Regions from separate parts of the Homo sapiens genome. Here all the other regions are linked to region 2. Evidence: promoter capture Hi-C in 16 types of primary human blood cells and fetal thymus (Javierre and others, 2016). All regions are on one chromosome and are shown on one strand. Each heading gives the region's core, a stretch centred on a gene start or on the middle of the fragment in contact. The rest is flanking DNA. Distances are from core to core; before and after follow the strand shown. Region 1 overlaps METAP1D (methionyl aminopeptidase type 1D, mitochondrial). Region 2 holds the start of GAD1 (glutamate decarboxylase 1). Region 3 overlaps DLX1 (distal-less homeobox 1). Region 4 overlaps DLX2-DT (DLX2 divergent transcript).

Region 1 (6,863 bases), core at 2,461-4,960, 1.3 Mb before region 2:
CAGCACTAATCTCCAAATAGTCACATCTCTAATAAATGATCTCAAATGGCATGTTATTTCATAAGTTATGAAATTTTTCTTTACTCTTTCTAGATATTTATTTTAGGCAGTAGTTATGAATGAAGAAATGCACAAATCCAGGGATTCCTTCTAATGAAAAGGAATGTTTAAGTACAATTAGTAATATTTTTGAAAGCCAACAACTGTTTTCCAAAAAAGTAGTAGATTTTTTTTGTTTCAAACCAGATCACAAATTACTGTATTTTTCTTACAATAGTGCTGAACTTTTATTTGAGGTTTTCTGTTTCTGAAAAGCAGACATGATGGATTGAAATAAAAGATAATTTATTGCAATGCTTACTTTCATGTGCAGAGAGAAGCAGTATAATTGTAATTTACAGTAGCTGTCAAGAAAAATCCATCACAGATGACATTAAAATGACTTATTTTGCCTGAGCCACTTATTGTTTAAATGTGCGTAATCTAATAGAAAGAGATTATTTTTTAAAAATCTGCTTTATATTGTTCCAAATTAATATCAAAACATATAGTTATGAATTAAACATTAAAAACCATTTATTGATACTTTCATCATGACATTTACAAGTTTAAATTATTTTTGATTGAACTGTCACATATTCATGATGCATGAATCTACACATTCACAATATACTCATATGTACAGATTGTATAATCTAGAGATAATTATAAAAATACAGATTTAGAAATATTTTAAAGCAAATGGAGATACAGTGAGTCTAGTAACACTATGACCTAAAGATTACTAGACATTCCTCACAAAAGCAAAAGGGCCCAGAGAGAACTCTTTCCATTAAAACATTTTAGCTGATACTTCCTCAAAGACATTATCTTCTTTAGGTTTCAGAGGAGAATTCCAAAATTTCCTGTAGAGATCTCAAGGTTTTTGATAACATGATACTAATACAAGTTGCTTGTTCTTTTCCTAGTGTATCAGTAGAGAGAGGCTACGCAAAAGATGGTGAATATCTTAAAATAAACAAGACCGAGTTGAAAGATGTTTGTAAACCTTTGGTCTGTAATGATTTCAAGTACTTTTGGCTTAAAGGTAAATATGGTTTGTTTACTTATTCCCCTAAGATTTTGCCAGAATAAGAAAAGGCAAGATAATAGGTGTCCAGAAACACTGCTTTAACACATCAGAACAAATATTTGTTAGAATCGGGGCCAGTTTCCTTTCTAGCGGCAGACATAAACCATCTAAATAATGAAATGTATTAGGGTACAAGTAAAAAGTTCATTGTCTGTTATTTTCCACATAGTTTTTTTAAGTGCAGTTGTTGGGACTGACTGATCTGGTTTTCAAAAAAGCTTGTACATGCAAATTCATACTCTGTGAAAACTGACCTTTGTATCCAGATAGCTAAAATCCAATGTCACTTTCAATTCTACTCTTCTTCTTCTTCTTCTTTTTTTTTTAATGTAGCTAGAATTAATGTAGTGAATATGTAATGAAATGCATTATCCTGCATGGAGATTTATCAAATTTTCCAACTGAATGCTATGCTTTGCTAGTACTAGCTGGAGTTCACCTGCATGTTGGTGTGGCGTGTGGCTCTTTTTTGTAAAGAGTTAAGTCGTACACAAAAAAAGGGAACAAAGGTCAGCACCCAGCCGCCACTTGAATGTGAGATTTTTCTTTTTATTCCCCTTGATGTATACTAGGCTCTGTGTTATTAGTCTTAATGATGGAAAATTGTAGTGTTGATACAAATCTTTTTTTCAAAGTAGTAGGCGGGAGCTCCATTTGTTAGTAAGTTTTTTTTGTGACTAAAAGCCATGGACAGTACATTTATGTAGCAGTAAAAGGCCTAGATGCTCTTTCCATAGCAGAGCTAATTATTCCTACTGTGACCTTACTGATCTAGCCTGTTCCTAGCACATCTCATCTGCACGCCTGTTCCTCTGTGTAGATGGTGTCAGAGAATATGAAAAACCCTATAATGAAACCATTTTCATGATGGAGAAAGGCTACTGGAGTTGCACTTGCTACAAAGAGGCTCAATTATATGAGTAATTGTGATAATTTTCTACATTCATAGCCTTCAATGGGGGAAAAAGAATGAGAGCCACAAAGGAAAATTACTTTAACAAGAAAGTACAGAGAGTAAAAATGGAAGAAGAGACAAAAAGGGGAAAAAATAACCAGAAAAAAAGTTTAAAAAATAGATCTGGAGGGAGGAATAGCGAGACAGGGAGAACAACAGAAATGCTCAAAAGCCCATGTGCAGCTGTGTTGCACAATTAAATTGAATTTTTTTTTCTGCAGTTGATGAATGTGACTACTGCAAATGTGCCTCTGTAGTTAGCTATCATTTGTTGTTCCGTGACAGGAAAAGGATAATTACCTCTCAGAGAGAATCAAAGGCTGACATGCCCTTTAGACACAGCCATGAATGCAGAGCTCGATAGAATGCTTGAATAAGAATCTAGTGTTCTCTGCCCCCTTCTACTGAAGAATAAATTTTGTTAAAATGCAAGAGCACCACCAGTAAATTTGTTGAACCCTAGGTGTTCAAAAATATGAGGTGCATCTATCGACTCATCCCATTTGCAAAAATAAAACTGCATTTTGAATTCATTTCTATTATATTCATGGACAGTAAGATAGTGAGATATGCATTAAATTTCTTTTCCCAGTAGGGGTCTGATTCAACATTTCCTATGAAAGAACAGAGAGACACTATCCTTTTTTCCCAGGCTAGTTAGCCTATAATTTAAAACTGTCAAAAACACAATTTTGTTCAAAGTCTTCAATAAAAGCTTCTCAGATATAACCCAAAGAGATTTTACTAAAGTTTGATTCAGACACTGTTACAATATTTTTAAAGCCATAAATACATTTAACTGATATTTTACTGGCTTTTTTCTTAAAGTATTTGAAGGCTTACGAAGAAAAAAAGGCAGCATCTTTTCAAGGTGACTAAGCCTTCCATCCTTTAGACAAATGGGAAGTATTCAATGGTTCATATTAATGAGAACAGTACTTTAAAGGGCACTGATGTGATCATCTTTAACAGAATGCATTACTTTAAAATGAAAACATATATTCGGCATGTCTACTTCAAAACAGTTATGGGGGAAAAAAGACCTAAAAGTAGGTAACAGATTATAAAGAAAAGTCTTAAATTCAGAAAACACACATACACATACATTCAAAAAGTAAGGATAGAATACTCTGTGAAAAATAAACAACGGTTTACAGGAAAAATGAACCAGACAAAAAAAGAACAGAAGATCACCGTTTCAGGCTATTTGTTAATCTACCAATTTGAAAGGTAAGGCTTGCTTGAACTAACACTTTATTATCTTCATATCACAGAAATACATTTCACTTCATTCCTTTATAAAATTTAGTTTTTCTCCTGTCTTATTAAAAACCCCAGGGTTGAGATGCTCATCCCCTTCTTAGGTACTCCCTTCCATATTTGGTGTGATTTTGAATAAAGGGAAACTATAGACCAGTATGTCAAGCTAAAACAAAAGCAGCCATGTAAATATTGCTTGCTCCTTCTATAAGTTTCTTTGCTGACCCTGGTATAATTCATTTTTATAAAATCTTTTTTTTTTTTCAACTCAGGGAACAATATTGCAGCCTGGCAGTTCACATACTGATATCAGACTGAAATGATGGTTCTGAATCATAAAACATGTCATCAACTTTATACCAAGCCACCAATAACCTTTGTACCATTTGCCAACCCTCCCTTTACTTGTCAATGTAAGGCTTACCTGATTGTGTTTCCAATTACAGAGAAGGGAGCCCCTGCTCTGCAAGCTGCAATTGCTTCATCTCTACACCTCCTGGCAACCTCCACTAACTTTTTACCACATTCGTCCACATTGCCCACCAAAAATGTTTCAGAGGTGTCTCCATGGTAGCCATTGTAATAGACCTAAACATAAGCAGAAATTTAAAAATATGTCCTTGTTTAAAAATCTACTTTCCTAAAGTATACATTGTATTCATTTATGTATTTAGTAGACTCATGTTTTACCCTTCCAGAATTATTCATTTGCCTATCAAAAAAAGAAGAAATAGATATATTGAAACCTTGCAGAAATTTAAAAGATGAAGCCATGCAATGATATTGCAAAATTTAAAAACAACTATGTTAACTAGTATGGTTATTTCAGCATTATGATGAACAATACTACTGTAATATTTTGATTCCTCACTTTATTTCTGAGAAGACAAAATTATATAAGCAAAAATTAGTAGCCAAAGACCTTGATCTACAATTACCACAACAGGTTTAGAGAACCAAAAAGTATTTAACATAGTGAAAAGTTTCTTCAATGTCATGAAGACTTACTTGATTTTGTATTTACCAGTTCTACATTTGAAGTGATATATAATGACAAGAAGAAGTAAGATAGACATGTCTGTATTCTAACAAACAAATAGGAGAATTCAGTTCTAAGAATTGAAGTGGTTCCATATAGGAATGAAATGTGTTACAGAAAAATCCTATGTCTAGAAGTGAAATCTTAATCAAATGTTCCAGACAGCCGAACGTTAACAGAAAGCACTATATATGGATATCTAAAGAATTAGAATATAATAAAACAAGCTTAAAAGCACAATTACAGAAAGTATAATTTTATCAGTCTTCAGTGATTCAGAAGCCAAGTAGGATCTTGAAAGATACCAGATTCATTATAAATCATTGATAACCAAGCACTATAGTAAATATAAAAGGCAGAGGCAACTGTTTGGATACTGATCCTTTGATGTAGCATGGAATTTGCTACTTTGCATAAATTTGTCCTATCTAATTATTTTTCACATTTCTCTTGCTCATAAGGTAGAATGTAGAAACTGTTATAAAAAAGATGTTTATATGAGCTTTCAGTCTGTTGTGATACTGAATTAATGTCTTAAATCTGTATACTACTCTGCATTTCTTAAAAAATGCTCTCATATTCTGTGAAGGAAGCAAGAAAGGTCTTTATTAGATCTTCAGTTTATAATTCAGGAAACTGAGGCACAGATAAGTAACTTGTTTAAGGTTGGTGGCAGAATATAGAGGTAGATTCAGGTTAATATGATGGATTATTGGCTTCTAATCGAGTGTTTTCTCTACTATATCAAATTATCTTAATTACCTTGCAACAGAATAGTGTTTTATACATTTACTCCCACTTACAGTCCTTTGCAATCCAGGAAAGTATGAGTTTTTATTTTATACACTTGGCAGTATTTCACTTTGCTTCATAGGTTTTACAATTTTGAAATAGTTTGAATGTTAATAATGAAACTATTAAAAGTCTTCAGGAAACTTAGAAAAGGAATAGAGTATTCTCTTTGGACACATTGGAAACAGTAGGGAAGACTATGCTGATTTCGTTCAAAAATTCAAATTTTTATATTCTTATATTTCATTCAAAATACAAGAATACTATTTCAAAATACAAAATACGATTTCATTCAAAATACAAGAATATAAAATTTGCTAATATAGGCGTAGTCAAGAAAATGTATAAATGAATGTTTATATAACTGCTTTTTAAGTAAAAATGTACTATTTTAAAAAATCTTTATTCATCTTTTCATATTACTTTTTCCTAGCTTTGAAAATGATTACTTGAGGCTGGGTGCAGTAGCTCACGCCTGCAATCCTTTGGGAGGCTGGGATGAGAGGATTGCGTGAGACCAGGAGTTTAAGACCAGCTTGGGAAACATAGTGAAACCCCATCTCTACAAAATTAAAAAATTAACCAGGTGTGGTGGCACACGCCTGTAGTTCTAGCTACTTGGGAGGCTACGGTAGAAGGATCACTTGAGCCCAGGAGTTCAAGCTTACAGTAAGCCATGATGGCACCACTGCACTGCATCCTGAGTGACAGAGCAAGACCCTATATCTGAAAAAGTAAAAAAAGAAAAGGAAACAAAGAAAAAGAAAAAGAAAGGAAGGGAGGAAGGGAGGGAGGAAGGGAGGAACGAAGGAAGGAAGGAAGGAAGGAAGGAATATCAAAATGACTATTTGAGACTGGTGCAGTGGCTCACACCCATAATTCCAGCACTTTGGGAGGCGGAGGTGGGCGGATCACTTGAGGTCAGGAGTTCAAGACCAGTCTGGCCAACATGGTAAACCCAGCCTCTACTTAAAATACAAAAATTAGCTGGGTGTGGTGGCGTGTGCCTGTAGTCTCAGTTACTGGGGAGGCTGAGGCAGGAGAATCACTTGAACCCTTAAGGCGGAGTTTGCAGTGAGCTGAGATCCTGCCATTGTGCTCCAGCCTGGGCAACAGAGGGAAACTCCGTCTGAAAAAAAAAAAGACTACTTAAAAGATTCACTATATACAGAAATACAATACTTTTGAAAGTCTGTGGCAGTCATCTACAATTTCTATTTATACCCATAAACTAGTACTTGTACTTCATTTATTTATTTATTTATTTTTTGAGACAGAGTCTCGCTCTGTCACCCAGGCTGGAGTGCAGGGGCGCGATCTCAGCTCACTGCAACCTCTGCCTCTCAGGTTCAAGCAATTCTCCCTGCCTCAGCCTCCTAAGTAGCTGGGATTAGAGGCTCCTGCCCCCACACAGGGCTAATTTTTATATTTTTAGTATTTTTAGTAGAGATGGGATTTCACCATGTTGGCCAGGCTGGTCTTGAACTCCTGACCTCAGGTGATCCGCCTGCCTTGGCCTCCCAAAGTGCTGGGATTTCAGGCATGAGCCACTGCGCCTGGCCCTTGTACTTCATTTAACAAATATTTATTGAGCAACTACTATGGACATCGCATTGTCTTTAAGAAAAACATTTTTCAGTTTTAAAGGGGGGAAGGAAATCTAATTTCTTGTGATGTATACTAGA
Region 2 (6,926 bases), core at 4,039-6,538:
GGCCCCAGTGGGTCCTGTCACTTACCGCAGATCTTGAGCCCCAGTTTTCTGGTGCATCCATGGGCCACGCCGCACCAGGTATCGTACGCTAGGACGAGAGAGAGGGAGAGAGGTTCGGTTAGGGAGGTTCCGACCGCGGGGAAATGGGTGGAGGACAATGGTTTTCTTGGGGGAGGATGAGGACTTTGCCAGAGCTCTTCATTAAAAGCTACTTCCTGAAAGGAGCTAGGAGCCAAATCTGTGAGCCGACAGGCATATACTCTAAGCCCCCATCATACTCCCTTCCTGCTCCTGGCTTCAAATATGGAACGGTGTCTCTGAGAGGCGGGGCACCCGGCGCCCCTCCGGGCCCGTAAGCGACCCCCGCCCGGCAGCTCCGGAGGTGGGGTCGGAGTTGGGTGAAGGCTGACCCACACGCAAAGGGCCAGGCTCCGATCGAGCTGCCCAACACCCACTGGCCGGGCCCCGCAGACTCAAAGGGCGACCACAGCAGCCCAGAAAGGGAACACAGGCATCTGGGACCGAAACGTCTCATAATTTCTTGGCGGGTCTCCAGCCTAGTGGCAGCTTAAAATAAACTGGCATGAAATGGGGTCGTGGAAGAGTTCAAGAATTAATTGGGTGAAAAATAGTATTTGACTAGATGATCGGGCTCGCATGGCTGCTCTTCAGTCAGACCGGGGAGTGGGGAAGACAATAGTGCGCCTCAGGTCCTCATCCCTGGCCCCTCTTCCCAACCTGCCCCTCATTAACCCTTCCCTCTGACATCTTGGGTCTGGAGCAGGCAAAGGTAAATGGAATCAAGCACCTTTCCTCTGAGTCACAACTGAGGGTGGAGGTGCTGCTGGATTTTCCTTCTTTTCCAGGCTGTTCTCAAACCCCTCAAGGTCTACCTGCTGCCTTCGGGGTTCAACTTCCAGCAAGAAGCGTGGGAAGCAGCCCCATCCCCACTAAGCCCCCAAGCGGAGTGGTGTGGTGAGCCCAGCACGAAATCCCCTTCCAATCTCTCAAAGCAAACCTCTCCAAGCACTCGCTTACCCTACCCTGACTGGTGCCTCCAGCTTCGCACAGGTGTTGGAGGCGATAAGGAGAGTGACATCCATTAAACCTGAGGCACAACAGAGCCCCAGCGGGGAGAAGAAACAGCCTGACGTCGGTAAGACATGTCACAGATGGAGTTCCAGTGACAGACAGGAAATCAGTGCAAAAGCGAAACCCTAATAATACCTGGCGGATAAAGAGCTATTTGGACCTGATAAAGTGCTTTCACTTTCAACATCATCTCATCTAATTCTCGTAACAGTCCTATGAAACTGGCAGGAGTGTTGATCTAAGAGTCATTTGACAAAGAAAAAACATCGAGGCTCAGAGAGGTTACATGAGTTTTCCAAGGTCAATCAACAGGGAAGTTGGAGTTCAGACACATTGCACTGCCTTTCAAAATTGGGGGTTGCAATGAAAGAAAGGGAAAGGGAGACGGGGAGAGCAAGCGAGAGAGCCCCTTTGATGTAGCAAGGGTCGGGAAGACCTAGTGGTTGGGGACAAGGAGGGCTCCAAGCCCCACCCAAGGGTTTCTGGAACAAGAGAGTGCCTTAGGTTGCCTGCACTAACGCCACCTCCCAGGAGACTCTAAAGGGGCAAAGAAGTGGAGCCAGCTGGGCGGGCAAAGGTATTGTCTGCAAGGGAGGGTGAGAGTGGATAGAGCGCCCAGCGCGCCTTTGAAGCCTGGGGTGCGGATGCGTAGCTAGGCTAAGGGCCCGCAACAGTGTGCCTGGGACACGTGCTGCTTGCTGTTTTACAGCAGGGTCCCGGGCTCTCTTGCCTTCGCTTTGGCAGCTTCCAGGCGAACCAGGCCACGTGCGGATTCAGGTCATCGCCTCTGTTGTGTCTCCTACCGGTGACTTGGCATTTGCGCCGGCGACTGGCGGCCACCGGGAATTCCGTAAGGGCGCCGGGAGTGGAGGGCAAATTAACACAACTGCCCGCTAACCCCCCACCCCCACCCCCAGGCGGCAAAAGGGAGCGGGAAATGTGGAAAGCGTCAGAAAAGAAATCCATCAAGGCGAAAGCACCACACAAAGGCGCGCAGGCCTCGCGTTCCTCCCGCCCTGCCCTGGCCAGCTCCAACGCCGGTGCCTGGTTCATATGCTACCAGGGCTGGCGACTCTCCCGAGGCCCTCTTTGTTGTGTGGGTAATTGTATCCCTCCTGGGTGGCGGGAAGAGGGAGCTGCAAAGGAAATTGGAATGAGACCTGAGGACTTAACACGAGACCTCCTGCCCGGGAGCCAATGCCAGCGTCTAAAGGGGCTTTCCGGTAATAATCCCCACTTCATTGATGAGGATACTTATTTTCTCAAATATAAAGTGCCATAAAAGCGCATCAATAAGCACTCCCTGTAACCACACTATCCTTCTTAAGCCCTTTCTGTATACAAATTCTGGAAATTCATACAATTAATTACATCTCAGAAATAAATAAATGGGGGAGTGGGAACACTTACAGTCTGAAGCTGATAAGTTTTTTTAGGGGGGTGGGGTCAGGAGACACTTCTTCACTCCAACAAGGAAAAAGAAAAACAATTTTCTCATCTCAAGCCTTTACAGAGGTAGGAAATAAAATTAAAGATAGATTCTGGAAATGGGTTGAGGAGCCTGTCGCACTTAAGACAGGGAAGCATAAATCCTCCCCCCTCTTTTATCTGGTGTCTCTTTTCTTTCTCTCTTTTCGGGACATGTCACCTCCTGACAGATCTCTTGCCTGGGATAAGGAGAGAGGTGCTCTCTCCTCTCTATGATAAAGCTTCTTGCCCCCTCCCAGTTCCCCATCTCTTGCCACTCAGGATGCCGCCCGCTCCCCTATTTATTTATTTATTTATTTATTTCTCTGAGATGTAATTAATTGTATGAAATGTCAAGGCTCAGTCTCAGTTTTATGCACCTTTCCCGCCCCTGACTTCTCCCTAACTCGTCAATAGCTTGATGCAAATTTGGAGCAATTAGGGACCTTGAGTTTTCTAAAAGCTGCAATTAACGTCGAAATTTCCGCTGATTATAGACTTTGAACACAGCCCAGGGGGAAAGGAGGAGGTCAGATCTTGGCTCAACGAAAGCCGGGGACTGAAAACTCTTATTCCTGCTGGGGCTCCTAGCTCTTCATTCCGCCCCCTGCGCTGACCCCTGTCGTCCCACGGAGCAAAGAAACCACACACAACAGAATAAAAACAACACCCTGGCTGCGCGCCCCTCCTCCTCCGCGAAGCCCTCAACGATCGCCGCTGCTCGGACCTTGCGTGGTCCTCGCTTTCCGGTGCCCTGGGAGTCACCTAGCGTCCCTGACAGCCGAATGACCTCTGGCAGGGACGGGGTCAGAGCCCCATTTATTTCCCAGCCTCCATTATCTCCGCGCTCCCCCTTCCCTTTCCGCCAGCTCAGCCTCCCGACGTCCCAGCGCCCCCATCTTCCCTGCAGTTCATTTGATAGAAAATTGGGGCGGGACCTACTTGTGGGGCGCAGGTTAGTGGTATTGGGGTCCGCTCCCGCGTTCGAGGAGGTTGCGGACGAAGATGGGGTCGAAGACGCCATCAGCTCGGTCGTCCCGGGGCCTCTACTGTCCAGAGTCCTCGACTGGTCCGGCGCAGAAACAGGCTGCAAAGAGAAGCGAGAGCTGTGCGGGGAGGACTTCCGGGGTCCTGCACACCGGAGGGACTGAGCAGCCGGGGGCACGGAGGCTCCCCTTGAAGATCCGGCTCTGGAGAGACAAGAGGGAGGAAAGGCAGCGAGCCTGCCTGGTAGGGGTGCGCAGGGGTGGGGGCAGCGGAGGAGACGTGCGCGCTAGCTCCGGTACTGGGGCGCAGGGAGCGTAGCCCTGGGCCGCTCTCGAGTCTGGCGGTGCATCGGCGCGACCTGGAGTGAAGCGCCGAGACGAGGCGGGGTCGGGGTCGGGGTGGGGGTCCAAGGCCAGTACAAGACGCAAGGGTGTGGGGGACTAGGCTAGGAGCACAGGGGAGCGCTCAGTGAGCGATTTTCCAGCCGAGCCGCTACAAGCCCCATTGGGCACTCAGCAGCCGGCGTGTGGGCCAGCGGGGGGAGGGCGCACGGGGCGGGCATGTCTGGTTCGGTGTCTGGTTCCCGTTGTTGTGTCTGGCTAATTCCCTGGAAAGAAAGAGGCTAACTGCTCCGGGGACTAGGGACTTTGGTGAGACAAGGTGAGAGGGGGAAAAAGGCCCATATCTTTACGTTCTCCCTCGGACTTGGCCAGAGAAGAACCACAGTCACCTTGCACTCCAGACAGCCAGAAAGCAGCGAGTCGGAATGTTGCTTGCCTCCCTCTTATCCCAGCCGGTTTTTAGCCATCGCTAAGCCTAGGGCGAGGTTTCGGTCCGGTTTCAGCGTTTCTCCTCTACCTAGCCCCCTGAGGACCCCAGATTTCTCGCGGTACAGATCCAGAGAGGGTGGGGTAAGTAAGCATGGGGAACGTCACCGGGGAAACGAACTTGCGCGCAGCGCGCAGGAGGCGGCGGACAAAGATCTTGCGCGGCGCCCCTGCTCGACTCTCGGCGCTGGCGCGATGGCGCCCGAAGGCCCCGGGACAGAGAGATTGCGGGCTAATCTGGGTAGATCGAGGACCCCACAGAGAAGGGCCCACCGGCCATCGCCTCCACACCCTCCCTCCGACCTCACTCCTAGCCCCGCGCGCGCAGTCGCACAGCAACTCGGGCAGCGGGTCGACTACGGCCCCTGGAAAAGTAACAGGTTACCGTTCCTAGTAGCGCCTTCGGCTGCTGCTGCCCAGGCGCCCTTTGGAGGGACAGGCGCTCGCAGCATGGAAGCTCAAGGGAAAATCGCTCTTGCCCCACTTCAACTAGAGCCTCAGCCTCCGTGCTTCCCCGGGGCGTGAATCCGGAGGGCAGGGATAAGAAGAGTGACGAGGGAGGCGGGGGGGGGGGGGTCCCTGCGCAGCGCACCCGTGGAGAGCAGGGACTAGGGCGGGCAGGAAGCACTCATTTCGGGAGGTTGGGTGGCCGGCGCTGGGATGGGGTTGGTTGAGAAGCCGCGGGAGGAGAGGACCTGGCTGAAAAGCCACGGTTGGGCGCTGGGAAGTCCAGGTGGTCGCTAGCTTACCCACCTCGGCTCTGCGACAGCGAGCCGGGCACTCCCGCCTTTCCTCTGCACAGCGCCCAGCGATCCGCTCGGCTCGGCCCTGACAGGCGTAATCTGCCCGGCGTCACCTCCAGCTGCTTCCTCGTTCTCGCTAGTTCCCTCTCGCACGCGAGCGCCAGGAGAAGAGAGAGATTCGGAGAGGCGGCTGCACGGCTCCGGGGTAGGCGGGGGCAGAGTGGGGAGGCGGGGACCGGATCGGCGGGGAAATCACGAGGCCGTTGCTCGCGGGGGCAGCTAGTCGGCGGAGCGGCGGGGCTCCTCTGCAGGTGCCTGACCGCCTCTGGAGCTTTATAGGGCGATTATAAATCCAGCTCACGGTTTTGCGCCCGGAAGGAAAAAAAAAAGGTCTTATGAGTAATCCAGAACGTACTCAACACGCTTTTTTTTTTTCCTTTGGAAATAGGCAGGCTGTCGGGTGAGAGGAGGGAAAAGATAATTCCTACGAAGAATTCTGCCTTTCTGAGCGTTTCTTCTTCCCTCCCCTCCTTTCCCCTCTCCCATTTCCCCTCCCCCTCCCATATATTGTAGGAGACGAGCGGCGGTTTTGCCTCAGTGCTTTTCCCCGGGGTTCCCCCAGATCTGTGACCCTGCGACGCTTCCTTGAGCGAAAGCGCGCTTTGGGTCGTGTCCTCGTTGGCTCTCTACGGAGCTGGGATTGTTGTAACCGCAAAGGAGGCAGAAATGAGGGGAGACCTCTTAGACCATGGAGGAATTACAGTTTCCTCATCCAGCCCTGGGCCCCATCAAAGTACCACACCTGGCCACAGCTACCCAGTGCCACCGGCAGAGAAAAGGACCCCGCGTCCCTTTTGCTATGCGCTCGCTCCTCGCTTTGGCCCCCTTGGTGATGGGAAAAGAAGGCCTCCTGATTAATCACGTTTGAAGGTTGATGACACGCACGAGCGCCGCTGCACGCGCATGGGGCACCCGAGCACAGAGGTGCCCGGAAGGGGCGGACCAGCCCCCCTTGCCCTGGCCCGCTCCCCCTTCGATTTCACGCGCTTTAAGGATTCTCCCTTTGCAATATTTAGGCGTAGTTAAAAGAACCGCTGCGTTGGGAGAAGCCCCTCGCCGTAAAAATGCGTTGAAAGAGAAATTCCCACCAGAGGGCGCCAAGAGCCCAGAGACGGAGAGGCCCTGCGCTCCCGGGTCTCTCCGCCAGCGCCCGAGCGGAGCCCACACCTGGAGCTGCTGGCCAGACGGTTACGCGCCGGCTTGCCTCTTCATGCCTTCCCTCACCGCCCTGTCACTAGTTTAAGTTCTCCCCTTTCTTCTCCCCCAGTTTTTTTCTTTAGGGCAAAAATGTTGATGTCTGTGCGTGTCTGGGTGACACCGTGTAGGCAGTGATTCCTTTACTGGTATTTACCGTGGTCCTCCCCCTCTCCCCAGGTGGTGCAGCACGCAGGGGTTATTTATGCGCACGTCTGGGGCCTCACTGGTTCAGCGGAGGCCCGTCCGTTTTCTTTGAATGCCTTATCGCCTTTCACCACAACACAATGGAAACACACACAAAAATATTATAAATTACCGAGAGTTCCATAAGGGAGATCGAAGGGTCCGCCCTGGGCAGACATGGCCTGATCAGCAAGAGGGATCTCGCTGTGGGGTTTGAAATAATCGCGTTGCCTTTGGTACTAAAGAAACTACTGTTTTGTCGCCTTGTCTCCACCTGACGATGAAATCCCCGGCACTTTTTAAGGACACAAAAAACATCCTAAACGGCGGGGCGCGCGGTGACTGCAGCCCCGGGCACTGAGGCTTGGGG
Region 3 (6,931 bases), core at 2,575-5,074, 1.3 Mb before region 2:
TCCCCCATCATCCCGCCCCCCCGCCCCCTGGGCCCGGTCTGCCCATCCCGGGGCCCGGCCCGGCTGCACTGTGGAGGGGTTTGCCAGAATCCGGGAATGGGGCCGAAGGAAGGAGGAGGGGGGAACAGGAAAGAAAAAGAAAGGAGGAGGTGGCAGGAGGGGGTATCCGGTTCAGTCACTTTCTCAGTTGCTGCTTTTAGGGTGGGGAGCCCCTCGGGGCCTCCCGGGCATTCAACTGGGGAGAGCAGGTACGCGGGGAAAAGGATTCTCTCCTCGGCACGTTCACGGGAGGACAGTGAAAATTTGCCTTGGGTGGCCAATTTCCTCATTCGCCCCTATTAAAAGAAAAAGCCCAAGAAATTCAATTAAAGCCACCCTGGCCAATGCTCTATTTGAGGCATGAATGTCTCCCCTAAAGCTGCAGCAATCATGTGGCATTAGACACTTCCGGAATCCTATAGCCAACCTGAAAAATCCCAGACCCCCTTTTTCCCTAATTTTTGCTCTGATCTGTAATTTTATCCACATTTGCACTAGTTTGAGCATTCTGGCTCTCCCATCTGAAAGCCTGCAATTACTATATAATTCTTCGCAATTTCAGATGTCCTAATATGGACTGTAATTTTTGCGCAAGACAATTTCCTGCTATTTCAAGCATCAACATTGTCAAAGTTGTATGTACATAATAAATGGGAATATCAATGCATAGTTTTTAGCATAACATCTTGACTCCTCGATAATTATATCCGTTCGGAGCCTACGCAGAATTAGCCTGAATTGCATGGTAACTGCTGCTGCTTTAAAATTTTTAAAAATTACTCATAATTTTCCCAAAGATTACCAAGATCTCGAGTGCACAATGTCATCAGCGTAATGAAGAGTAAACATTTATGCTAATAATCTGCAATTTTTTTCATCAGCTATAAAGACAGAGGCTATATAGCCGAAAATTTCAGTCCTATTCTGCAAGCGCAGCGCTGCAAAAAGCCTGCGGCGCTCTGAGGCGCCTGGTCCTGGGGACCTCTTTCCACTCTTTACTCTCAAGATAGGAGGATGGGTCTGGGGGATTGTTTTTGGTTTTCTGGTTTTGTTTTACTCTGGTTTGGTCGGTTTTGTATTTTTCTATTTTTCCTTTTTTTCCCTTTTTTCTTTTTTGATTTTTCTTTCCCGTTATTCTCCCAGCCAAAAGCTACCTTCGACCCTTTTGATTTGATGTAGCAAAGAGTGTGTGTCCAGATTATCTGAAATTGACACTGAAGAAGGTAAGGGTGGAAACCGGTTTCATTTTTCAGAGGGTTGGAAGGCTGCGCTGCGCCCGCCGCCGTGGCTCCCGCTCCGGGAGTAGGAGGGTGGGGGAGTGATTATGTATGCACCAGCTAATTCTTCCATCAAAACTTCTTGTCAGCGATGTCAGGATTATTTTTTTCCTTTTTATAAAAACACTTGATGTTTCAGGAAGTGTTAATCCTCGAAGATTGGGGGATGAGGGAGGGGGTAGGAAAGCGGTGGGTGGGGGTGACATGTTTCTTGAGCCTGGGGAAGGCACTTTTTACAGCCGTTTGTCTGTCTACGCTGGAGCTAGGGGTTTGTTGTGGAGCTGGGGACCGGAGGAGGATTTCTTTGAGGCATGGGAGGGAAGGACCCTCGCCTTCTGTACTGCATTTGATGGAGGTTCCTATGGCCATGCGGGATGAAGAGCAGAAAAGTTTGCGTTAGCCTATAATTTCAAGGGTGTTTAATCCAGGCGGTGGGATGACAAAAACCAGGTAATTCTGAAATCAGTTTATAAAAGATACAGAAAGGAAGAGATGGATACCAGGATAAAGATTTAAAGCCAGGAAGCCTGGGTTGCTTCTTTGCTCCCAATTTTTCTTGATCTAGTATCTCGGGTTCCACATCCAGCGCACAGACCTACCTTTCCTGGGGTGACAGAAATTGACAATTTCTTCAAGGTGAAAGATTCAGTTAGTTTCTACATCAGATGACTCTCTATGAATAAATTCACACTTCTGTGCATATAGGTGGGGGGAATCTTAAAACTTCTTGTGGCTCTAAAAACTCGTACAGAATCAAGAAGGCTGAAGAGCTATTATATCTAACCCAGCCCAGGTGCAGATTTCCAGAAGAAAGAAATAAAAATAAAACATAATGATCAGAGAGGAAAAGCTGTGAACTATAAACGTTTCCAGTTTTATATTTTTAAATAGTGCCTCGATTTAAGATATGAGTTCTCCCACAATTAGATTACCACTCACAAGGCTACCCAGCCCCTCCAGGCTCCTGAAAGCCAAGACCAGTGAGGAGGGGGCTGGGGACTGTTGCTTCTCTCCCTACCCCTACCCCTTTTTAGAGCTAGTGTGGGTGAGAGAAGATATTAAAGGGATATCTGTTGTTTGGCAATTTTGCTAAGTCTGTCTTCATTACTTTGCTGCTGTGCATTTGCTAATTTGGAGGCCTGGCCATTGACAAGCTTGCTCCATACACCTGCAAGCAATTTGCCGGCTCCGGTACCAGAGAATTGCAGAGATGGCAGCTCGCACCTATTTGATTTTTTTTTTTCCTTTTCTCAATGCACAGCAAATTTGGCTTTCAGTGCGTTATCTCTTTTGTTAATGCAAAAAGATTCCCTGGGCGAAAAAATTGCTCATAATTACCAGAGAGATGGGGAAACTGCATTAGAATAAATAAACCTGAAATTACTGTAATTATGTTGTGTTTGATGGGCCCGGCTTGTAATCAAGAAGAGAATACAGTGAAATGATGCTGACCCTCTTGGGTTTGCAGCTGTACGCGCACTTTGGGGTCTTTTTTTGCAGAAAAGAGTCATTTTGATAATCATTAAGCTGTGTGTAACCTATTTCAGAAGTGTTTTAAAATGAGTTTCACATTTTTTGAACAAGGGAAAAAAATCCCAAAATTGCATTTTGCCATTACAGACTCATACATAAGGAAAGGTTGTGTTTTCTAAGTGACAATTGTTAAGACATAATATTCGAAATCAGTATTTAATCATTATAATGAGGTATTGTTTAAATATAACCACCTTTAGATTATTCATAGTTTAATTAATATACTCATTATGAAAATCTTTGAATCAGATATTTGATGAACTACTTGTCAGTAACAAGGCAGCATTAATTAGGCCTATATTGAGATTAACATTTTTAAAAAGTACAACCGCTTATAATTATAATAAAGCCTAACTAAAGACCGTTTTCGTTGAGCTAAAACTAATAATTTCTCTATTTGAACTGTTAGCAAGAGATTATTAAATTAGTATAAGCTAATATCTCAAAGTATTACAATCCGCTTGACCAAACAGATTTTGCCTGTAGCTTGAGGCATTGGGCCCTAGCTGCCGTCTGGGGGACCTGAGTCAGATGCCGGACAGAAATCTTCGCACTAGCAAAGTCACATCTCCTAGGGGAAATTGAACCTAGGAAGACCCCCTACCCCGCGCGGGAGCTGGGAAATTCATTCTTTCCTCAGCTTTGAGGCCCATCTGACTGCCCACATCCTGGTTTCTGAGGTCTGATCTCTCCCATCAGCGCTGGTTCTTCTAGGTGCTGCGGAGAAGTCCCAATCTCAGGCCTGGAAGGGGCTTGGAGGTCCCCGGCATCATTCCCCCACCCCCGACTACTTTCCCTGCTTCCATCACACCGCCTCCCCCCACCCCCAGCAGCCCCACCACTTCCTCCTCCCCTTCCCAAAGGGCGTCGGAAGAGCCTGGCGCATCTGATCTTTCACCAGCACCAATTGAAAAATGGGTGCTTGTCACAACACAGATCACTGCCTTCCGGGCTCTGCTCCCCACCGCGCGCCTGAAAAGACCCCCCAAAGGTGGAGGGCCAGCTCCCGCGGGCAGCAGCGCTGGAAGGCGAGTGCGGGAGAAGTAGGAACAGCGCTTGGCAGCCTGTCTGGGCCCGCAGCTCTCCGGGACTGCCTCGGCTCGGCTGCGAGATCTGGGGTGGGGGTTGGGGCTGGGCTGGGACGCAGGGCCACGAGAAGGGAACCAATCTGGTTCTAGTCCCTTGAAGCCCGTGTTCCTCTGGAGGAAACTAATCTGAGCAAGCGCTTCACTAGAGGTGCTCCCATAAGGGCCTGGCCTTGGGACTTTCGGACTGGGATGAGGTGGGAGTGGTGTGCTTGACTTTGGTCAGATTTTGGGGTTCCAAAGTGTCAGCCACCCTTTCCTTAGCACCTCCATTTCTGTGAGGTGCAGAGAAAGGCCCCGGATCATTAGGCAGGAACCTGCCTTTCTCACTGTGGAGCTCCCAGGGTGGCTGCCTGGGACTGTGCCCTGTCCCCTGGAGCGCACTGATTGATAGAGGGGCAGTCTGACAGACGTGTCTTTCCGGGCCCCTGCTTGGCGTCTGGCTGCGTCTTTTCCGCGACGGAATCCAGCGCCTCCGGGCATGCAAAAGCAGGGAGGCCTGATCCGGAGGAAGGCTAGAGGCAAAGCAGTGTCTCTGCTTTCAGGCCTCTCAGCCTCCCAACCTCCCGGCCTCTCAAGAGCTGGCTGGGTGTGGGAAAAACTGAAATCGTCCTGGCCGGCTGACTTTGAACTCTGACTTCATCTCCTCTCAGCCGGTCTTCAACATCCTTTTGGTTCCTGAGCGTCAGCCCTGCCCTGATGCACCTGTTCCTGAGCCCCCTTCCTGGGGAACCCTCGCCAGGCATTCTCTCCTTACCCTTCCAATTCAGGTAGGAATCAGACACCTTGGGGGTCAATGGAGCAAGGCAGGAAGAAAAAGCCCAATGGGGCACCTCACAGGCCTCTGACGATACCCTGGTGTTTCTGGGGTACAGGGTCTCCATTCTATCACCGATAAGTTGATAAGTCGCTGACCCTGTATGAACTGTCTCCAGAGGCGGGAACCTGGCCTGGCCCCCTGGCACAGCCTCACACAGCACAAGAGAGCAGTTCTTTCAAGAAATCATAATTTTACTGTCTCAAAGAAACTTTATAACTTATTTACAAAGTTTTTTTCCCAAGATACAAAGCAATAAGTTAACATTCTCAATATAAAACTAAACTTTGACATAGAGAACACAAAACACAGTTGATTTCAATTGATCACATTTTCCAAATTTCACAAGAAAAATGTCAAGATTCTCATTTCACAAAGCATGGGGTTTTACAGCCACACACAACAGAACGCAAAAAGGCTAAGCTTGTGCAACATGTTTACAGAACAACAATAATAACAATAATAATAATAACAATAATATGTACAGTCATTAGATCCTGCACTGGAGATTGTGCGTTCAGGGTGGTGACTGGCATTATTCTGTGGTCGAGCCTCTAGGGATTGTTGTAAAGCTGATTTTGTCTTATTTTAAAGCCCACTGGAATTAGAGTGCTTGTTCTCGCCTGTTTTCTCTCTACTCCCCATTTGCCCTCGCTCCCTCTTTCTACCCAAGGAGGAAATCAGCATTTTCCTTCTTGTCCAGGCGAAGCAACAGAGTTCCTCCCGAAATGAGAAAATCATGTTGGCTTCATTTATCGTTCTTTTCTTTTAAAAATTATTTATTAAATAATGTCGGACATGTAAAAAATGCAAATCATTCGGCTCCAAACTCTCCATACCAGAGAAGTACAAAAGTTACTGTATAAATTAAAAATCACCACGTCCTCCTTATTCGTTTCTCCCCGTGCGCTTAAAGTAAACAGTGCGTTTGAACAGTGCGTTCCTTGCGCCCAGCAGAACCCTGAATTGGCAAACAGCCTCAGGCGAAGTCCATTTCTCAATAAATAAAACCCCCTCCCTCCAATGCCCCCAGATTCCCACACCAGCTACACAGATGGTCAGGCAGAGTGTCCCAGGATCCGGAGATGGTCAGCCCGGCAGGACCCGGGCCGCTCAGACCTTGTGGCTTTTTGCTGAGGCCGCAGAATGAGGACAGCGGACGGATGAGGACCTGGACTTTACCAGCGCACAGACAGAGCAAAAGGAGACAGGAGACTGACAGGACAGAAAAGAGCTTTTGCTTTTTCTACATTTTGTTTTTGTTTTGTTTTTTCCTGATAGTCCCACAAAGCTGAAGGTCGGCGGGTCGGGTGGAGCGGGTTTATCTTGCTGCTTGGGCTGTCTCAGGTGGCAGTGGCTTCCCTCCGAGGCCACTCTCTGCTGCCACTGCTCGGCCCAGGCCAGGGTTCAGGCTAGAGCGCGGATGCCGGGAAGTTGCTGGGCCGGACCTCGCGGGGCTCCGAGGAGATGGAGGGCGTCCCGCCTCCACTGTTCCTTCTTCCCTCTGGGTCCTTCTTTTCCGGACGGGATGGATGGACCTGGAGGCGGGAGGGACCTGGGCCGGGGAGACAAGAAGGAGACGGGCGGGCAACCTCACATAAGTTGGGGTTGCTGCATAGCTTCTTGGTGCGCTGAAGGGTACCACGATGTGTAGCTGGGGATATAGGAGCCCGCGTTTCCTCCTGAGCCCTTCCCGGATGAAGAGTTAGGGTTCCAGCCGGGCGGCACGGGTGGGGAGCCAGCAGACAGGGCCCGACCGTTGGCCAACGCACTACCCTCCAGAGCCGCCCCACCCTGCTTCATCAGCTTCTTGAACTTGGATCGCTTGTTTTGGAACCAGATCTTGACCTGCAAGAGCGGACAACAACGTGACTCAGGCTGGGACCACTGAGCCTACCTAGGTCACAGGGAGGAAAAAAGGGACCGCAGAACAGCAGAGATAGGACCTCCCAACCCTGCGCCAGCTGGCAGCTCCCTGCCAGAGAAGCAGAGACATCCCTCCTTCCTCCCTTCCCCCATAAGAGCCAAAGGCTCGAAGGCCGAACCTCCCGCCGCCGTCAGCCCACGGGGGCAGCTCTCAGAGAGCCAGGGAGGAGTTGTGATGAGGGGAGAACCGGGATCCAGGCCTTAGCCTGCCAGGGGCTCAGTCCGACCGTGGCTACCGCCTGCGGAAGATACAG
Region 4 (6,636 bases), core at 3,009-5,508, 1.3 Mb before region 2:
CAGATTAGCCTGCTAGTTGATGAGATGGCCCAGTGACCCTTGTCACCTCAGCTGACAGCCAACCAACTGCCAGCCATGAGAGTGAGGCCATTCCAAACAAGCCAGCGTCCAATTCAGTCAGCCCTCCACAGACACATGAGCGAGCTTAGACATACAAACAATAAGAAATGCTTATTGTTTCAAGCTACTGAGTTTTGGGGTAACTTGTGACACAGAAGTAGCTAACTGATAGAGATACCTCAAACTCAGCATTAAAGCTAAACCTATATCCCAGAGAAATGAAGACTTGTGTTGACACAAAACATATACACAAGTGTTTATAGCAGCTTTATTCAGAACAATCAAAATCTGGAAAAATCTAGATGTCTTTCAATGGGCAAATGGTTAAACAAACTGTGGGATATAATATCATGGAATACTACTCAACAATAAAAAAGAATAAATTATTGTTACATACAACAATCTGGACAAATCTCCAGAAAATCACGTTCTCTGAGAAAAAAAAAGCCAATCTCAAAAGCTTTCATACTATATGATTCCATTGATGTAACATTATTGAAATGATAAATTATAGGAATAGAGAATAGATTAGTCAATATCCTTGTTATAGGCCAAGCACGGTGGCACATTTCTGCAGTCCCAGCTACTGGGGAGGCTGAGTCAAGGGGATCACTTGAGCCCGGGAATTGTGGCCCAACCTGGGCAAGATAGCAAGACTCTATCTCCTTTAAAAAAAAAAACAAAAAGTTGTTGATTTGCTCTATAACTTCACACTATCACTGGGGGAACTGTGGAAAGGGTACAAAGGATCACTCTTTATCATCTCTTACAACTGCATGTGAATCTATGATTATCTCAAAATTAAAAGTTTAATTTTAATTTTTTTTTTTGAGACGGAGTCTCGCTCTGTTGCCCAGGCTAGAGGGCAGTGGCACGATCTCAGCTTACCACAACCTCTGCCTCCCAGGTTCAAGCTATTCTCCTGCCTCAGCCTCCCAAGTAGCTGGGACTACAGGCGTGCCCCACCATGCCCAGCTAATTTTTCTATTTTTAGTAGAGACAGGGTTTTACTATGTTGGCTTGTCTCGAACTCCTGACCTCATGATCCACCCGGCTCCACCTCCCAAAGTGCTGGGATTGCAGGTGTGAGCCACCGCGACTGGCCAAATTTTTCTAAACTTTTGAATTTTCCATTGTTCTTGGGCCAAAAATCTATTAGGTCCTACACGATATATTTCCTGCCTACCTTGCCAGCCCCACCGTACATACTCTCCTCATCCACTGTGGTCTGGCCCAGCTCACCTTCTTCCAGGTTTTCAAATGTCCCTTTCAGACTCAGAACTTTGCACATACTATTTCTTCTTTCTATAATGCCTTTCTCTCAACTATTTACCTAGCTAACTCTCATTTACCCTTTAAGTCTTTTATATGTCATTTTTTCACTTCAGTCACTCACTATGTGATGGGGTTATTTCATACAATAAATACATGGTTCATACCAACAGAGTTTACAGTATTCGGCCATCTGGGTCCAGGTTACTTTTGATGTTTATTTCCCTTTTGTTATCCCAAGACTTAAGTAAAACCTTGTTTAAACATCTCAGGATTCCAGCAGCTATTCTTTGGATTATGACAGAGTATCAAAAGTATAATAGAGATAAGAGTGAAATCCTTTACTGAGTTCAACCAGGGAAGGTAATTGCATAGTAAGAAATGCCCAGCCTGGCACGGTGGCTCACGCCTGTATTCCCAGCACTTTGGGAGGCTGAAGTGGGAGGATCACCTGAGGTCAGGAGTTCTAGACCAGCCTGGCCAACACGGAGAAACCCTGTCTCTACTAAAAATACAAAAACTAGCCAGGCATGGTGGTGCTCTCCTGTAATCCCAGCTACTCAGGGGGCTGAGGCAGGAGAATTGCTTGAAACTGGGAGGCAGAGGTTGCAGTCAGTCATCCAAAATCACACCACCGCACTCTAGCCTGGGCAACAGAGCAAGACCCCATCTCAAAAAAACAAAAAAAAAAGAAAGAAAAGAAAAAAGAAATGTCCAAGGCCAGGTGCGGTGGCTCACGCCTGTAATCCGAGCACTTTGGGAAGCCAAGGTGGGCAGATCACTTGAGATCAGGAGTTCAAGGCCAGCCTGGCCAACATGGCGAAACCCCATCTGTACTAAAAATAAAAAATTTAGCCAGGTGTGGTGGTGCAGGACTATAGTCCCAGCTACTCTACTGGGGAGGCTGAGGTAGGAGAATCACTTGAACCTGGGAGATGGAGTTTGCAATGAGCTGAGATCACGCCACTGCACTCCAGCCTGGGCGACAGAGCAAGACTCTGTCTCAAAAAAAGAAAAAAAAAGGAAAAAAGAAAAAAAGAAATGCCCAAGATGAAACTACAAGGATACAACAGTCAGAGCTGTAAAGTCTAGCTGCCCCTTCCCCCACAGGCTGTCACACACACAGCACTTTTCGTATACTAATATGTGCAATTTGTTAGCTTTACTATGAATTGGGTCGATGTAGATGAAGACCCTAAATGACCACTGGGTGTCATCACTGTCTTACACAAGACTTGGTGTGGCTCCTTAGTATTCAATCTTTTCTGGAATGTGGTGATAAATTGTGCTCAGTTCTAAATGAAACCAAAGCATATCATCAATTCAGAACTTAGCTATGTAGTAACACCAGCAAGGAGTACACAACTGAGGACTGGGAAATAGGCAAAAACAATGTCTTGAAATGGCCCAAAATGACATCCCAAAGTTCATTCACTTAAGTTTGCGTACTTTCCTCAAATGAAAGCCATTTGGGCCCTTTTAGTGGGAAGTTTCCTTTTTTTTTTAATTTTCTTTTTCCTATTTGAAGTTATTTCATTATTAGCACCTCTTCTCTTTGTGCTGCCTTTGCCTTGTTCATTCCATTATCCTAGGCACTGTCGTCCAAAAAAGACTAAAGTAGTAAGTTGGCTTATCACCCCATGACAACTCCTAAGCATAATAAGCATGTGCCCAAGGCAAGAGTGACACTGACATGGAGGGGAGGGTCCCATGTGGCACAGTGACAAAATTTCTGCAATCCATCACCTTTAAAAGGAAACGCATATGATTTGGGCTTAGAAGTGAAAGAACCCCACTAATGATCATTAAAGACTTATGTTCCTAAGGATAACAACCAGCTATGCTAACCTCTTTCTATTCATGGACTGAATGCACCTAGGAATCAAATGGTTTCAGGTCTGTGCTTGGCTTCCCATTCATCTGGTTTTCACAGATAAAGGATGTTCTGGACTTTTTCCTGTAATTTTTTCCTAACAAAGTCATTGCATCCTAACTTCAAGGTCATGGTATTAGCTATAGTAGATAAGCTGCCATATATATATGTTTGTGTATAGATATATATATGTGTGTGTACATATATATATGTGTGTATATATATGTGTGTGTGTATATATATAATCCCAAAAGTCAGTATCTTAAAATGTAAGTTTATTTCTTGGTCAGATAACCTTCCAAACAAGTGATGAAGATTCCCCTAGGCGGTGAGTCCCCTAGGGCCTCTAGGAGACTCTAGGGCCATGTCATCTTCATAGTTGAAGCTGGTTCCAGACAGCGGAAGGAAAAAGAGAGCAGAGAGGAGTCTCAACTCTGCCTAAAAGGTCCTGTCCTGGGAGAGGCACACATGGCTTCCACTTATGTTCCATTCTCTTGGATTGAATGACATGGTTACACATAAGTGCAAAGGGGGCTAGGGAGTAGTTTAGCTGCATTCCCCAAAAATCAGATTTGAGAGACAACACTTGGTCCATTCCACAACTATCCTTCAGTAGTCTAAGTGAAGTTTTGTTCAATTAAACATTAAACAGAGGCACAGAAAAGTTAAATAACTTTCCCTAATTTACACAGTTAGCAAGTAGCCAAGTTAGGATTTAAGCCCAGAGCCCATACTTTTAACCACTGTATATATTAACTCTAAAAGTATTAACATCTAAAAGTATTGGCATCTATAGGCCGGGCGCGGTGGCTCACGCCTGTAATCCCAGCACTTTGGGAGGCCGAGGCGGGCAGATCACGAGGTCAGGAGATTGAGACCATCCTGGCTAACATGGTAAAACCCTGTCTCTACTAAAAATACAAAAAATTAGCCGGGTGTGATGGCGGGCACGTGTAGTCCCAGCTACTTGGGAGGCTGAGGCAGGAGAATGGCATGAACCCAGGAGGCGGAGGTTGCAGTGAACCGAGATCGCGCCACTGCACTCCAGCCTGGGTGACAGAGCGAGACTCCGTCTCAAAAAAAAAAAAAAGTATTGGCATCTATAATCATGACCTGAAGGCCCAGAAGCCATAAAAAAAAAAGAGTCACATATTTGACCATACAAAACTTAAAATCTCTGAACTAGAAAAGAGAATAAACAAAAGTAAAAGAGAAGCAATTAACTTGGAATTAATATTGACTATAAACACAATAATGAGTTAATCTCCAAAATATGTAATAATTTCCTGTAAATCAATTTTTTAAAAACAGAAAAATGGGCAGAGAACAAAAATAGGCAATTCACAGAAGAAAATAAAATGCCTATATAAAAACACAAGCCAAGCATGCGATGGCACATGCCTGTAGTCCCAACTACTCTGGAGGCTGAGGCAGGAGGATCACTTGAGCCCAGGAGTTCAAGATCAGCCTGGACAAAATATAGCAGAGCATCCCTCTCTAAAATAAAATAAAATAAAAAAGACACACACTCTACTAATGTAAAGCCTTTGCAAGTTAAAATATGGCACTATTTTAAGCCTATCATATTCAAAAAACACTGAAGATTCCTAATATTCTTGGTGAGAGTGCTCAGAAATGAGTATAGAGCTTAAATTGCTTGTTTTTTAAGGGGAGCTTAGTGGTAGCTATTAAAATGTTGACATACAATTCAGTTACTAGGATTCTAGTTTACAAATATAATTGAACATGTGGGCAAAGCTCTCCAGAAGACATTCACTCATGTGTTGTTTGTAAATATCGGAAATCATCTAGATGACAAGGCAAAGAAGATAGTCAAATAAATGATGATACCTTCCTCACACATTCACCTTAAGAAGAAAATGATTGCTCTGTAACGACTGACATAGAAAGAAAAGATTTCTTTTTTTTTTTTTTTTGAGACGGAGTCTCGCTGTCGCCCAGGCTGGAGTGCAGTGGCGCAATCTCGGCTCACTGCAGGCTCCGCCCCCTGGGGTTCACGCCATTCTCCTGCCTCAGCCTCCCGAGTAGCTGGGACTACAGGCGCCCGCCACCTCGCCCGGCTAATTTTTTGTATTTTTAGTAGAGACGGGGTTTCACCGTGTTAGCCAGGATGGTCTCGATCTCCTGACCTCGTGATCCGCCCGCCTCGGCCTCCCAAAGTGCTGGGATTACAGGCGTGAGCCACCGCGCCCGGCCAAGATTTCTAAAAAATAAAAATGCTAGCCAGTCGCAGTGGCTCACACCTATAATCCCAGCACTTTGGGAGGCCGAGGCGGGCGGATCACTTGAGGTCAGGAGTTGGAGACCAGCCTGGCCAACGTGGTGAAACCCTATCTCTACTAAAACTACAAAAATTAGCTGGGCATGGTGGCACGCGCCTGCAATTCCAGCTACTCGGGAGGCTGAGGCAGGGGAATCACTTGAACCTGGAAGGCAGAGGTCGCAGTGAGCCAAGATGCACCACTGCACTCCAGCCTGGGCAACAAGAGGGAAACTCCGTCTCAAAAGAAAATAAATAAATAAATAAATAAATAAATAAATAAAAGAAATAGAAATACAAATAAAAATGCTTACGTGTTTACACATTTGAAACATGCACAGGGTTTTATGCATTTGAAAACGCGTGCACAAGTACATGCAAACAATCTGACATGACTGCCTAGGGTCAGTTCCCTGTGAATAACCTGCAAGGTTCTTCCCTCTGCTCCCCTCTCCATTTTCAAAGAAGCGAGCAGAAGCAGCCCAGGTGTAGCACACAGGGAAACTACAGAGAGGCTTGTCAAGGCGGGACTTTGCCCCGCTTACTGAATGGGGCAGTCCTTGCCGCACGGGTTAGGAGCAGTATTTGGCCTTTCCAAACTTCAGTGCTGCAGGCGGGCCCTGCACTTCCCCATCCACAGTGCCTGACGGCTTCACAATGCCCCTGGACCACCCACTGCCGCCTCGGAGGCCCACGCCCAAATCCCCTGGCCTGGCCTGGTCCACTGGATCCCGGAAACAGCGTCTGCCTTCACCTTGGCTGCCGCCAGGACAAGGCCTGCTTAGACACGAGTGAGAAAAGTGGGCCTACACCCTCTCCGCCTGGGCCTCCCTCCGCGGTTTAAAACCCATTCCGCTGAGGCCCGAGAACGCCGAGTGTCGCGGTAAACCTGGCGGCGATGAACCTATAATGGTGTATTTCCAGGCAATAATCCCACAAGGAAGAGCTCAGTATCACCTGCATTCCACAGATGCAAACGACGAAGCACAGAAATATTCAGTCCTTTCCCCAAGGCCACAAAGTCTGGCTCCCGAGCACACGTGTCAGCACATCCTCTTCACATCCAAAGGAGGTGGCACAACCCTTTTGTTCTAAAATGAGAGAGTGGAAAGAAAGACTCTGTGAAAGAGAAGGGAATTTTGTGTCCAAG

What was found. The method cuts DNA at HindIII sites, captures the fragments that hold promoters and counts their contacts. A CHiCAGO score of 5 or more calls a contact.
Region 1: a fragment that was not itself captured here is called in contact with the fragment with the promoter of GAD1 in region 2 in 2 of 17 cell types (total B cells and naive B cells); the score reaches 8.8 in total B cells.
Region 3: a fragment that was not itself captured here is called in contact with the fragment with the promoter of GAD1 in region 2 in 2 of 17 cell types (naive B cells and total B cells); the score reaches 34.4 in naive B cells.
Region 4: a contact is called between a fragment that was not itself captured here and the fragment with the promoter of GAD1 in region 2, in 2 of 17 cell types (total B cells and naive B cells). The highest score is 11.2, in total B cells.

Annotation. Positions count from the first base shown.
Region 1 is chr2:172,067,979-172,074,841 of GRCh38, reverse strand. It overlaps METAP1D (methionyl aminopeptidase type 1D, mitochondrial), which reads right to left. Exons shown (of 10, transcript NM_199227.3): 6 at 3,772-3,935. Among named protein-coding and RNA genes, the nearest start is that of DLX1, 14 kb to the left of the region's middle. RefSeq lists an enhancer at 1,321-3,051. The HindIII fragment of the contact is 1,811 bases long and covers 2,805-4,615 here.
Region 2 is chr2:170,815,249-170,822,174 of GRCh38, reverse strand. GAD1 (glutamate decarboxylase 1) reads right to left here and starts at 5,288. Exons shown (of 17, transcript NM_000817.3): 1 at 5,127-5,288; 2 at 3,502-3,646; 3 at 26-88. The coding sequence starts at 3,583. It overlaps GAD1-AS1 (GAD1 antisense RNA 1), which reads left to right and starts at 3,524. Exons shown (of 4, transcript NR_197761.1): 1 at 3,524-3,789; 2 at 4,260-4,457; 3 at 5,143-5,321; 4 at 5,690-6,926. RefSeq lists enhancers at 2,851-3,373, 3,374-3,897, 5,137-5,306 and a silencer at 5,394-5,473. The HindIII fragment of the contact is 11,655 bases long and covers 2,804-6,926 here.
Region 3 is chr2:172,087,671-172,094,601 of GRCh38, reverse strand. DLX1 (distal-less homeobox 1) reads right to left here. Exons shown (of 3, transcript NM_178120.5): 3 at 4,928-6,599. The coding sequence ends at 6,345. Among named protein-coding and RNA genes, the nearest start is that of DLX1, 5.6 kb to the right of the region's middle. RefSeq lists enhancers at 2,278-3,451, 5,773-6,384. The HindIII fragment of the contact is 2,704 bases long and covers 2,473-5,176 here.
Region 4 is chr2:172,109,731-172,116,366 of GRCh38, reverse strand. It overlaps DLX2-DT (DLX2 divergent transcript), which reads right to left. Exons shown (of 5, transcript NR_126376.1): 5 at 6,385-6,577. Among named protein-coding and RNA genes, the nearest start is that of DLX2-DT, 10 kb to the right of the region's middle. The HindIII fragment of the contact is 7,472 bases long and covers 523-6,636 here.